Regions from separate parts of the Homo sapiens genome. Here regions 2 and 3 are each linked to region 1. The links are contacts of gene promoters, found by promoter capture Hi-C in blood cells and fetal thymus (Javierre and others, 2016). All regions are on one chromosome and are shown on one strand. Each heading gives the region's core, a stretch centred on a gene start or on the middle of the fragment in contact. The rest is flanking DNA. Distances are from core to core; before and after follow the strand shown.

Region 1 (2,554 bases), core at 29-2,528:
GGAGGAGAAGAAAGTGGAGAGATCTCAGGGCAGGATATGAATGAACATAGTTCAAGGAGCTTTCAAAGTCCATCTTCAGGTTTCTTAGTTACTTCTGTTTAGAATCTCAAGTTAAAAATTCAGCTTCATATTTATAAAAGGATCACGTTATCTGAGAAGTGTCAGAGCAGGTTTGGGAGAGAAGAGACGGGTGAGGAGAGAGTTCTACCTGAGGCAAAGGCAGAAGTGGTTGGACCAGGTCCCGCAGAACTCCGTGAGTTCCAGTCACAGAGTCTGCCCTTTTAGGTAAAGAGGAACTTGGTGCTGAAACCGCTTCCAGGCTCTTCTCAGCCCAGGGTTGCCCAAGATCAGTTGTACTGAGTGGCCGGCAGGGTAGGCAGCCATGATGATCTTGCACAAAATATTCCAGGAACTGTAAGTGTCAAAGATGTTGGACGTGGAAAGAAATAGAGCAATTGCATTGAAAATGTAGAGGATGAGAAAGTAGCTGGTGGCTTTGATGGCCCCTATGTGAGCCTTCATGCTGGGGTCCCTGGACCCTGTGGCATTGCTTCCCATGTGTAGGGTGTGTCTCTTGAGAGAGAGGATCAGCAGGGTGGCTGCCAGGATGAACATGATCAGAGGAACGAAGATCCCCATGTTATAGAAAAATACCAGGTTGACCATATTGGTCTCAGAGAAGTACTTCTTCTCCGTGGAGTTGGAGGAGGGGATAGGAATGGAGCTATTCACATACACATTGAAGACATCTCTCGAGAGAGGAAAGCTGAAGCTTAAGGAAACCAACACTGACAGCCTGAGAAGCCAAGGCATCAGCACTATGATTTTCCTCTTCATCAGGAAGAACAAAGGATGATTGAAGTTTGCAATTCTAAGACAATAGAAGACTTTGAGCCAGGCAGCAAACCAGAGATTGGAATGGTTCAGAAAGACAGTGATGACTTTGAAGAGGATATACACTGAGTTTTGGTTATAAACAATTCGGAATAGCAGACTGAAAATGTTCTCCAGCATCATCCAAATCTGTAGCAAGAGCCTGGAAAAGCTCAGCATCAACATAATGCGGTCACCAGTGGGGAGTGTTTTGCCCCTGGCCCACTCAGCCCCATAGATGGCCGTGATGAAGCCACTCCCAAGGATGCCAGTGATGCACTCTATTCCGGAGACCACCAAAGTGAAGGTGACCTTGAACTTGGATATGTCTTTATCTGTGGCATCTGTGTTCACCGTTGCCATTCTCTTTGATCCTGACTTTCAGGTTTCTGCGCCAAGAATGGGTAACTGCTCTGCAATCTTCTGACCCTTGCTCAATGTTATAATTTCTGCCGCCCTCATTAATGGTTATTTCCAATTTTTCTCCATTTGTTTATCACATGACTACAAGTTAGAGGCTTCACATGCAAATAATGAGAGGATCTGGTTACTGGGTCTGTCTCAATTTTTCATAAAGATACATTTGTCTTGGGCTTTCAGAAGCTCACTGGAAATAATTTGAGACATGTTTCTAGCTCAACACCTTCTTACCTTATTTACTTTAAGTCCACATTTACCTGATAAGCAATGAATACAAGGCCTTTTTACTTGTCTCACAAGATCTCTGTTACCTGCTAAATTATTTGTAAAAGCTCATACAGCTTTTAAAATCTGTTTTCCCCACTTCTTTTCTTGTCTCTCTTATTTTGGGAGAGAGTTTTATTTTGATAGTTACCATGTTTGTGAATAAGAAATTCCCATAAGCTCATATATGAACATCTTTTACTTAGAATTGAGTTTCTTCCAAAAAGGCCTGCTATTATAATGTCCTCGAATAGTATATAGAAAAGCCAAAATTGGATGCTATTCGAGTTGGAGAGAAGGAAGTCTCCATAGTCCCAGTTTTTATTGTTTGTGTATGTGTCATCAATTTCAGCTTACTGAGATCCCACATGACTATTTGAGCTCAGAATCAGGTAGAATGAGCCTGGGGAGAATTCAGTGTTCTGGACATGGTGTTGAAGTTTGGAAATGTGATAAGGTACTATGACTTGAAATTTAATTTCCTACTTTTTAACCCTGGCTGTGAACCAGAATGAACTCTGGCACTTTACAAGAATATGTAGATGCCCAGGACTCGTCCAAATCTAGGAAATCAGAACTGGACTAGGGCTCAGGCATGCTATCTTTTAAAAAAGCCGAAAGGTCTTGTTGCTCATAGTCAGGATTGAGATCCAAAATCTTAGCTGGAAACCAATGAGCCTTGGGTCAGATTTGGCCTGTAGTCATTTTACCTTGCATTGGTTAATGCTGTACAGCATTAATCCACCAGTGTGTAACTTTTCTTTTTGAGGGGTTCTATTGGCAAACATTTAAACTTAGGAGATTACTTATATGCATGCACAAAAAATCTATCTTCTCTTGAAAAATTAGAAGATTTGGCAGTATTGGGTCTTCATAGTGAACTGGCTGAAGCTGAGTAATGGCTGCCCATTTTAAACAAGGTATATACTTTTCAGTTTGTTGACAATACTAATTCCTAGTGTCTTCTTGACACAGAAGCTGAGTGCCAGTTATCATT
Region 2 (2,554 bases), core at 25-2,524, 270 kb before region 1:
TCTCCTCCTTAACCTTTGGCTACAACTCTCAGTCAGAAGTTCTAGCAGTTTTCTCCATCCACAGACCTTGAGGTGGGGAAAGCTTCAGGCCCTGTGAGGTCCTGAGCTTACCTGGGCAGTGGAAGCAGCAAAGATAAACCCAAGATTCTTCAGGTCTTGCCCAAAGGGGAAGAGCATGAAGTTAAACAACAGTTCCCTAGTCCATTGTCATTACAATGACAAATCTTCCAGGTAAGTAAACCTTTATCTTGCAATATTGGCCAATTGTTATAAAAAAAATTTAGTGGGTTACACACTGATGTCTCTCTTTTTTCTCCCCATTTTACCAAAGACTCATGTTCTATTACTATAGAAATAAATAGTTAAATATTGGGAATAAAACCTCATCCTGACCCATTGTTTCCTCTGCTCCTTCTAGTAATTCCAGTGAAGAAATTAAAACTTTGTGGAAGATGGCCAAGAACCGGGAGATCAGTATTAGGAAAGCTGATAAAGAAAAAACTTCTAGTAATATGAAAATATGCAAAGGAAACACAACAGGAATGTGATGTGGGAGACCATCAAAGAACCTGCAGAACTATTTTAATGACTGTGAACTTGAGACTTCTCAATGGCTCCCAGGCCATGGATGTGATGATTCTAATGTGCGATGTGTCCTCACCACTCTAAAACTAGATGTCACTGTCACTAAAACTAGGTGTGTGGGAGGAGGGGTGAAGGTGCTTTCATTTTCTTCCTTTAGGAAGGAGACCAGGTTCTAAAATTTTAGTTTCTCTTTCCTATCTCAATTACTTTCAGTCCCTTCTCACCAGGTCAGAAAAGTAAATGTTTCTGAATCCCAACTTCTACTAAAAGTCCTCAGTGATGCCACAGCATTGAAGGGCAGTAAAAGATATAAAAGAGTTACAGAAGGGCTCATTATGCTAGGAACTAGAAGGACAATTAAAAGTTGAAATAAAATGTTTTTAGAATATGTATTCCACAGGGAACTTAGTAGAGGAGGGAGCTGTGGTTGCAGAGAAGTAGCTGTGGGGAAGAATGAGTAAGAAACACACCAAGAGCAAGTAATTTCCCTCTGGGGATGCCTAAATTCTGAAAAGTTATCAGCTAATACTGACAAAGTAAAGCCTGCATCACGAAGAAGAGGATGAACAACTGTATCAAGGACTTTCTAAGAGATGTACATCTCCACATTCAAAATGTCCTGTGCATGAAGTGAGCACTCAGCCTTGGTGAGTCACCCACAAGGAAGGCTAAGAGGAGGTGGTAGGAGGATAAAGCCCAAATTCCTGGGAGCACCCGGGACTGTTTTGTGATCCTCCACTGTTTTTCTCACTGGTTGTAGTTGGAGGCTCTTTGAATTCCTCCCGTGACCTAGATGATATAAATCAGTGTTTTCAAGCCACTTGATAGAGTCCTAGTTCTTGTCAGTCACCAAATCAACAGCATAAACTGAAGTGCTCAGTATATGTAGATATACATTTTAAAAACTAAAGAATGGAAGTCAAAAGGGAGATGACTCTTTTCTTGGCCTTGAGGCATTTCTATTCTGTTGGAGATAAGAAGGAATGGAGAAGGGCTTGGATTGGTATAAGAACCAAAGATAGACATAGACCTTCATCTTTTCTTGATAAAGAAGATGGTGAGAAGTGTCTGTTCATATCCTTCGCCCACTTTTTGATGGGGTTGTTTGTTTTTTTCTTGTAAATTTGTTTGAGTTCATTATAGATTCTGGATATTAGCCCTTTGTCAGATGAGTAGATTGCAAAAACTTTCTCCCATTCTGTACGTTGCCTGTTCACTCTGATGGTAGTTTCTTTTGCAGTGCTTAGGAAGGAGGCTTACGTATCAGAAGGCTACCAGCCTTTCAGCCTTGGCCCAAGTAGTTTTGCCATTTCTACTGGTGTAGTCCTCTTCCCCGTTTCCTTAGTCTCTGGTTTTGAGTCAATTAGTCCCGTTCATTGACACCTCCCCAATCAGCTATGTGTGAGATCTGAATCCTTTGAACCCAAAACCCACTAATTCATATCTCATTGCCTACAGTCCCACTAGCTATGCATGCTTAGAGCAATCAAACACCAAAGGATCTATTTTTCCCTTCTATACTACTTTAAACCACAGATTATGTATATTCACTTATCACAAATCTTTAGAGCTGGAAGAAATCTTAATGTACCTAATCTAACTTGCTCATTCTGTAGATGAAGAAACTGTGGCTTTAAAATGTAGCAATGTACCCAATGGATACGTAGATGGTTTCCTGATACAGCTTGAAGCCCAGGCCTCCTTATATGAATCTTAGCATACCTTAAACCTCATCTACTTTTTTAAGAGGCAAGAGCACTATTTCTTGTTTTTGTTTTGTTTTGTTTTTTGTTTCTACTTTATTATTTCTACAGATCTGCTGAGCTGATTACATAGCCAGACTCTATGTCTCCTCTTACCAGATGTCTTCATCAAGCTTCCTCTGAAAACTCCCCTGATAAGGTCATGATGACTCACTCTTTCTATTCTCCCTGCAGGCTGAGTTCCTAAGCAGGAGACCAGACTGATT
Region 3 (2,554 bases), core at 32-2,531, 260 kb after region 1:
TGGCTTCCAGGGTACAGGTGAATTTAAACATTTCCGGATTGACAGTTGCTTGAGTTTGTCTAAAGATCTGGGATAGATAGAAAGGGAATGTTCAGGGTAAGATAAAGATTGCGGAGACCGAAGTTCTTTTGAAGTCTTATAGTGGCTGCCCTTAGAGACAATAGGTGACAAATGTTTCCTATTCAGATCTTAGTTAATCAAAAGATCTAGCTATGTTAATGAGATATGTTAATAGCTAATAGAGATGCTTTACAGATGCAAATTTTCCTCCACAAAGAACAGCTTTGCAGGGCCATTTCAAAATGTGGCAAAGAAACATGTTTTGGGGTAAAATATTTTTGTTTTCTTCTTTGTCTCGTAATGTTATGCCAGAATCAGGTTAGAAAGTAAATCATGTTACATGGGTTAAATAAAACCCATCTGATGAGAACTTATGATATAGGGCATGACTCCCCAGACCCCTTTGATAGGAATTTGGGGCAAGATAAAAAAAATCAGAGTTTAGTCCTCACTCCCATGCTTCCTTTCTAGAGGTCCAGAATTCCTGGCACCCAGGCTCTGGGGAGGAGAAAGCCTTCCAGTTCTACAACTCCTGCATGGATACACTTGCCATTGAAGCTGCAGGGACTGGTCCCCTCAGACAAGTTATTGAGGAGGTGAGAAAAGTTGGGATATTAACTTTTCTGGATACATAACATATGGGACCAATGCATGCTTAGGGCTGCCATTTTTTTTTCTAGAGGGTGGGTCTTCTTCCTAGGGCCCCCCAATTTCTAGGAGGGAGATGGAGATGGAAATGGTTATGCCCTATGAAAGTATCAGGACCTTGGGAGAAGGCAGATAAAAAAGGATAGATGTGGCTTCCTAGAGGAATCGAAGGGCGCAGGGCAGAGGTCAGGCAGTAGCAGCTGTGTAAGAGCCGATCCAGACAATGGGGGATGGGCTCCACGGATCCTTATGCTCAGCCCCCTCTCTCTCCTTTAAAGCTTGGAGGCTGGCGCATCTCTGGTAAATGGACTTCCTTAAACTTTAACCGAACGCTGAGACTTCTGATGAGTCAGTATGGCCATTTCCCTTTCTTCAGAGCCTACCTAGGACCTCATCCTGCCTCTCCACACACACCAGTCATCCAGGTGAGGGATGCACTGGCGAAGACACAGTTGGACCTGGCCTGCCTCCAACTCTAGCCAATCATCCCTTAGAGGAAGGTTGCAGGTTGGGAAGAGAGGACACCTGTGTGATATAGGAAACAACCCTACCTTAAGGGAAAATTATTGATGTGAAAGTCAGGGACATTAGCTGGGGGTGGGAAATGGAGCAGCAGAGCCAGTGCTGGGAAGACAGAAGTAGGCCTGGTCTTTCTTACTGTTAATCTGGATTAGTCTCAGAGCCCCTTAACCAGTCCTCCTATCTCTAGGATTGCCCTCATTTTATTTACTCTTTATTTTTACTAGAGGGAACTTTTCTAAACCAAGGGCTAACTAACTATGCTACTGTCTGTATTTAAATGCTTGTCAGTGACCCAGTGGCTTGCCAGGTCATCAGAATCTAGTCCCTAATCTTTAGTAAAGCTTTGCAAGCACCTTGTGATCTGACCCCTACACACTTCTCCAGCCTTATCTCCCGTACATTCCTTCTCTCCCTTACCCCCAAGCCATGCTGACTCACTGCTGCTTCCAGGAATATTCCTCAGTTCTTTGCCTATGCTGCTCCCTGTGCCTGCAACCATCCCCCACACTGAACCTGGAAAACTTACATGTTTTTCAAATGTTGGCTTTATTATCTCTTCCAGGAAGTCTTCACCGACACCCTAGTTATGAGTTAGGTGAAGCCCTGCTCTCCCTACTTTCGTTTCCTCATGCTCTCAGCATTTATCACTCTGTGTTGAAGATTGTGAGCCTCTTTAGAACAGGACCATGCTTTATTCACCTTTGTTTCTCAGGACCTATCACAGGGCCAGGCAGCTAGAAGTTTTGCCAGGTATTTGTAGTGAGTGAGTAACTAAATAAAAACACTGGAGCTATCACTCTTGTGGTTAAACAATGTAATGCTATCTGCATATTTGGGCCCTACTGTCAAAAGAGCCACAAAATTACCAAAGGATAAGTACAAAAGAAGAATTGATTATCATTATGAGGTGTTCTAAAATTTAGTTTTAAACAGTCTGCTCAGGAGTTTAACTGATGTGGCCTTTAGGGGCCGGTTAAGATCTGGTTAAGGAGAGGCTCAGAGAGGAGAGAATGAGAGAAGGTGAGCTAAGCCAGCCTTGAAACATGGTTAATTCACACAAGTGGAGGTGAAGCTATGGGGCGTTGGAAATGCTGAGCCAGGGGGAGGACCTGGAATGGTGTGATTCCTTCGTGGAGTCAGTGAGGAGGCTGATCTATTTAATTGAGGATTTGGGAGGCAAGGTGGGGTGCAGTGGGAGGTAAAAGTGAGACTGAAGACATAAGGTTGAGCCTGATTATTTCTAAGAAGCCAGGCGAAGGTGAAACATTTGACATAATAGAAAAAAAAAAAAGAGCTACTGAGGCCATCCAACTCTTATGACAAT

Evidence for each region. Contacts are between HindIII fragments. The CHiCAGO score rates a contact against its expected background, and 5 or more counts as called.
Region 2: a fragment that was not itself captured here is called in contact with the fragment with the promoter of TAS2R40 in region 1 in 2 of 17 cell types (M0 macrophages and M1 macrophages); the score reaches 6.1 in M0 macrophages.
Region 3: a fragment that was not itself captured here is called in contact with the fragment with the promoter of TAS2R40 in region 1 in 4 of 17 cell types (M1 macrophages, M0 macrophages, naive B cells and 1 more); the score reaches 6.8 in M1 macrophages.

The regions. Positions count from the first base shown.
Region 1 is chr7:143,220,761-143,223,314 of GRCh38, reverse strand. TAS2R40 (taste 2 receptor member 40) reads right to left here and starts at 1,278. Exons shown (of 1, transcript NM_176882.2): 1 at 236-1,278. The coding sequence starts at 1,236. The coding sequence ends at 265. The HindIII fragment of the contact is 3,585 bases long and covers 775-2,554 here.
Region 2 is chr7:143,492,092-143,494,645 of GRCh38, reverse strand. The region is part of intron 2 of EPHA1-AS1 (EPHA1 antisense RNA 1); the gene reads right to left. LOC105375547 (a long non-coding RNA gene) reads right to left here and starts at 1,669. Exons shown (of 2, transcript XR_928075.3): 1 at 1-1,669. RefSeq lists a silencer at 2,376-2,554. The HindIII fragment of the contact is 2,379 bases long and covers 85-2,463 here.
Region 3 is chr7:142,956,406-142,958,959 of GRCh38, reverse strand. It overlaps KEL (Kell metallo-endopeptidase (Kell blood group)), which reads left to right. Exons shown (of 19, transcript NM_000420.3): 5 at 532-656; 6 at 987-1,133. Among named protein-coding and RNA genes, the nearest start is that of KEL, 4.7 kb to the left of the region's middle. RefSeq lists an enhancer at 467-1,182. The HindIII fragment of the contact is 585 bases long and covers 989-1,573 here.